2 separate regions of the Homo sapiens genome follow, and region 1 is linked to region 2. Evidence: promoter capture Hi-C in 16 types of primary human blood cells and fetal thymus (Javierre and others, 2016). All regions are on one chromosome and are shown on one strand. The core of a region is centred on a gene start or on the middle of the fragment in contact, and the rest is flanking DNA. Distances in the headings are between cores, read along the strand shown.

The links. The method cuts DNA at HindIII sites, captures the fragments that hold promoters and counts their contacts. A CHiCAGO score of 5 or more calls a contact.
Region 1: a contact is called between a fragment that was not itself captured here and the fragment with the promoter of RGSL1 in region 2, in 4 of 17 cell types (M1 macrophages, M2 macrophages, M0 macrophages and 1 more). The highest score is 8.2, in M1 macrophages.

The regions. Positions count from the first base shown.
Region 1 is chr1:182,755,725-182,758,424 of GRCh38, reverse strand. No RefSeq gene overlaps it. Among named protein-coding and RNA genes, the nearest start is that of NPL, 33 kb to the left of the region's middle. The HindIII fragment of the contact is 5,923 bases long and covers 1-2,700 here.
Region 2 is chr1:182,448,831-182,451,530 of GRCh38, reverse strand. RGSL1 (regulator of G protein signaling like 1) reads right to left here and starts at 1,385. Exons shown (of 22, transcript NM_001137669.2): 1 at 1,353-1,385. The coding sequence starts at 1,365. RefSeq lists an enhancer at 940-1,547. The HindIII fragment of the contact is 4,233 bases long and covers 1-2,132 here.

The sequences.
Region 1 (2,700 bases), core at 41-2,540, 310 kb before region 2:
CGATTCCCTGACTTCTATCCATGGGTCCCTTGGAGGGGAATGGAGGATGGGGTGTAGGAGGAATCTGAGGACCCCAGATTAAAACCCCTATTTTACAAAATGTATTTTTATAAATTTAGAGGGTACAAGTGCAGCTTTGTTACATGGTATACTGCATAGTGGTAAAATCTGGCCTTTTAGTGTACCCATCCCCTGAATAGTTTACATTGTACAAAATGTGTAATTTTTTACTCCTCGCCCTCCTCCCAGCCTTCTCATCTTTTGGAGTCTCCATGTCTGTTATTCCACTCTGTGTGTCCACATGTACCCCTGTTTAAGTCTATATTCCCTGTCTATTTTTTAATCTTCCATTCGTGTCTTAATTTTATGATCCCTCAAATATCTAACTGTGTATAAGAGTAAGCAATCTTTGTAGTATGGTTTTTACCCTCATGACCCAGGGTGACTATTCTCACCAAAGTCACCAATGTTCCCCCAGGTTCGAAGGACTTTTTCCCATTTTTATATTACTCCATCTCTCTGCAGCCTCAGACACCAAACCGTTCCCTCCTTGGAACTTTCTCCTTCCTGAGATTCTGCAATATTCTTCTCCATGCCATGACACAGTGGTTTTAAGCCCTCATAATGGTGGGAGTTTTTTCAAAACACAGGGCTGGAGCTCTGTTCTCTGAGTATTCTGAGAGGGAAGGTTTGGGGTAGGGCCTAGGCATCTGTTTAATGCTACATAAGGAGTTCCAGTTTGTACCAATTGAGAATCACTGCCTTTGTTATTTATGAGTGCTGGATGTATGTTTTCCACTGATAACTATAATAATAATAATAATCATAGCCATAGACTTAGTAATGTTTTTCTCTCACACTGAGTTTTTTTTTTTTTTTTTTTGAGGTGAAGTCTCGCTCTGTCGCTTAGGCTGGAGTGCAGTGGTGCCATCTCAGCTCACTGTAACCTCTGCCTCCCAGGTTCAAGTGACTCTCCTGCGTCAGCCTCCTAAGTAGCTGGGATTACAGGTGACTGCCACCATGCTCGGCTAATTTTTATATTTTTAGTAGAGACGGGGTTTCACCATGTTGGCCAGGCTGGTCTTGAACTCCTGACCTTAGGCAATCTGCCCACCTTGGCCTCCCAAAGTGCTGGGATTACAGGCATGAGCCACTGTACCCAGCCTCTCCCACTGAGTTTTAAAGCACAGCTCTCATTTAATCTTTTCTTGGCTTTATTTCCAACCTTAAAAATAAGAATAAAACAAAAACTCCACTTCCTTCAACAAGGAGATGTATATATTAATGAGGAAATGTCTGCAAAATTTTCGCAATATCTGGAATCAAATGTATTTTGTAGGAATAAAAACAATAATTTCTTTTCTTTTCTTTTTTTCTTTCTTTCCTTCCTTTTTTTTTTTTTTTAATGAGGCAGGGTCTCACTCTGTCACTCAGGCTGGAGTGCAGTGGTATGATCACAGCTCACTGCAGCCTCGACCTCCCAGGCTCAAGCAATCCTCCTACCTCAGCCTCCTAGGACTACAGGTGCGTGCAACCACATCTGGCTAATTTTTGTACTTTTTGTACAAAAATTTTCACAATGTTGCCCGGGCTGGTCCTGAACTCCTGGACTGAAGCAATCCACTGTCCTTGGCCTCCCAAAGTGCTGGGACTACAGGCATGAGCCACTGTGCCCAGCCAATAATAACTTCTTTATTTTGGAAGCAAACAGGGAGAAGGCAGAGGTAGATTCTAGGGGTGGTTTGTAAACTGCTGATTTATGGCCAATGATAAGCAATGTTAGTCTATGTGTGAAGATGTGAGACAAGCAGAAAGTGAGTGTTTGCAGGTGTGACTTTATAGCTAGGGAATATAGATAGCAGAGCATTGTCATAGAATCTTAAAGAAACATTGACTCAAATCTGCAAGGAATCTTAGAGTTTTCCATCTTCATTCTTTATCCCCATGATCACATCCAGTCAGGGCCACATTATGACTTTCTTGGAACCCCAGCAGTTCTGCTTTTGCTCCATGGGCCGAGATGGGTGGATCACGAGGTCAGGAGATCGAGACCATCCTGGCTAACACAGTGAAACCTGGTCTCTACTAAAAATACAAAAAATTAGCTGGCATGGTGGCACATGCCTGTAGTTCCAGCTACTCAGGAGGCTGAGGCAGAACAATTGCTTGAACCCGGGAGGCGGAGCTTGCAGTGAGCTGAGATTGCGCCACTGCACTCCAGCTTGGGCTACAGAGCGAGACTCCATGTCAAGAAAAAAAAAAAGTATCTAAAATTATATTTTATGACTGCATTGGCATAAAATCACCTGTAATCCAGGCTGGATTTATTATTACATATTCATTATTATATTTATGTTTCCTTTGGCTTAAAAAAATTAAAAGTAAAACATTTTTATGGGCCCCTAAAAGCATCATGGGCCCCAGACACTTGCCTCCTATGTCTAATGGAGGAGTCAGCCCTGCCTGAGAGAGGGAATGCACTATCTTTTCAAACAGCCCATAAATTTCCATTTAAAAACCATTTGAATTGATAGAAAGTTTATAATATGTATATGCACTTCTGTCATGTTTTTCTAGTTCTTTTCCTTAGAGCCAGTCTCCTCCCTCTGTCTCATGTCCTACATACTAGATCCTGGCTATTCAAATTGTGGGTTGTGGACCAGAAACATTGGTATCACTTGGAGGCTGGTTAGACATGCA
Region 2 (2,700 bases), core at 136-2,635:
CATGTCTTTGTTCCCATATTCCCATTGCTTCAAATGTTTTCTTAAGCACAGTCAGCTCACAAATTAATAGTCATCCATTAAGAACTGGTTTACATATAATCTTGGTGAGCCAAGAAAGGTAGAATCTACTGCAATGGTAGAATTCATCACTATCTCCCTATACCATCACGTATATCCTCCATTATTACAATTAACAAGTCTGACTGTTTTTATCCATCGATATATCTGTCTTCCTCATCAGACTGAGCGTGTGAGAGGAGGGACTTTGTTTTTTCACCTTTCTTCCTCTAGGCTCTAAAAGTGTTTGCACAATGTCTAAGTTCTGTAAATGTGGAATAAATTGTTCTTTCAAAAGATAATCTTCAATCTTTTTTTTTTTTTTTTTTTGCCAAAGTCTCACTCCGTCACCCAGGCTGGAATGCAGTGGCAAGATCTCAACTCACTGCAGACTCTGCCTCCCAGATTCAAGTGATTCTTGTGTCTCAACCTCTCCAGTAGCTGGGATTACAGTGCATGCCACCACACCTGGCTAATTTCTGTATTTTCAGTAGAGATGGGGTTTTACCATGTTGGCCAGGCTGGTCTTGAACTCCTGACCTCAGGTAATCCACCTGCCTCAGCCTCCCAAAGTACTAGGATTACAAGGGTGAGCCAACGCTCCCAGCCAATGATTTTCAATCTTTTGGACTTTTGTTTGTTTATCATTCATAGAGTCTAACATGGATTTGTTGAATGAGTATATTACTGAGCCCATCTGAATACAGAAAAGTGGGGTTTGGCAGAAATTCCCTAGTGATTGTTGTTCACAGCTACACACACCGCTGGTGGCAAGGGGCCTGACTATGCTAGGGCTTGCCATTGCCAAAACAGTCTTAAGGAGATATAGAGACAAGGCTCTGTACATCCTTCCCTTCCTCATCCTCTCATTTCTCCATTCTTGTTTTTCCTTCTTACCTGTTCTGCCTTCAAACTTCCTAATAATTTGAGAAGGCTTTTAGCACCCATTCCACGCCATAATAATATTGACTTGGCAACAAATGAAATCACTGCATAATCTCAAACCCCATACCAGTCTTCTCTCTGGAGGAGAGGTGGCCCAATCCACATTTTACTTCCTCCCTCTTGCCTTAGTTGTCTTATGAATAAGGCCCTGTACTATCCTCAAAGATCTGGTGGCAGAAGGTAGGAGGAAGGGGAAGAAGGAGAAAGAGAAGGAAAACAAAGGCATGAATAACACAAAAGTCACCCATGGTGCCCCTGAATGGCTCAGATCTATTAACAATTGGGAAGATGAATGGTTTGCCTTATTTGAGAGACTCAAGGCCTTGGAGACATCCCTGGCAGAGACTCACCAGCACTGCTCATGTTGCCATGCTCTTCCTGACACAGTAATTTGTTAGGGGCAGAATTACCCCCCAGTCAATAGAACTATATCCATTGTGAACACGTAATGACACCTTCTCTAAGGGGTTCCAGATTCTATCTGGCAGTGATCTACTTACCTCTGGTGTAGGCCTTAATCTGAAGATAAGTCTTTATCTTACCTAATCTGCTGAATCCCCTTGGACATACAAGACTCCTCCTATACTTAAGCCTTTAGTTCATACTATTTTATTTGACAAGTTCTTTATAATTGTGCCCAAGATCTCTTGTCTGCTCCAACCTCTCCCATGCTAGGGTGACTTTTGCATTGCTAAACTCAGCTCCTAAGGGTCTTGTAAACGGTTACATTTGATGTAATTTTAATAAGCAGTAACTCCTGGATATTCTGCCCATTTAAAACATCAACCTCCATTGCTTCAGCCCAGGAATTCAAGGCTGCTGTGAGCTGTGATCACACCACTGAACTTCAGCTTGGGCAACAGAGTGAAACCTCATCTTTAAAAAATTAAAATTAAAACATCAGCTTCCAAGAGGTTTGAACTCCCTTCCTCTGAAGACTCTTCAGGCTCTTGGTTTTCTCATTAAACAACTCTTCATTTCTCCTGTTCTTCCCTAATAGGAAGTAAATATTAAGATGAGAGACCAAAAGCCCTATAATCCTTCAAACTTTAGCCAAGAATTACTGAGAATAGAATTCTTCAGTGTCACACCCAGAGAGGGCTTTTAAGTCTTGGGATTGTAGGGAAGCTTATATAATGTCCAAAAGGCTTTCCTATGGGGGGTGGAGGGAAAACTGAAAACTGGAAGGATTATTGTTAATAATGAATCGTCAATACAATATCACTTACATTTGAAAAAGTGCTGTACTTTCTTTAGAATATATAAAGACCAAATACTGCATTTTAAAGTGATTTTAGTGAGAAGAGATTCTTGCTTTACATCTTGATGTTCTATGTATTGCAAGATGAGATTGTAGCTTACCATACTTCTTCAATCTGTTATCAATTACCTTATTCACCTTATTAATTAGTCAGTTTAACATGCACACATCTTAAGAGAGTTCAGTGTGAAGCACTGCATGATTCTACAATATCATATTATTCCTTGAATTATCACCTCTTTTGCAAAATAAATAGAGTCAAGGTCTCCTCCTAAAATAATGGCATATACAGTAGTAATATATGCTCACATTCCTTAAGATGGAATGCTTTCAGACTGTTTTCAATCAAGCTGTGTGCACCTACCCTTGAGTCCTAATTGCTGCCCCACCGTCTTTCCCACAGTTCAAAAAGGCTGACTGTTGGAGCCATTAACAAC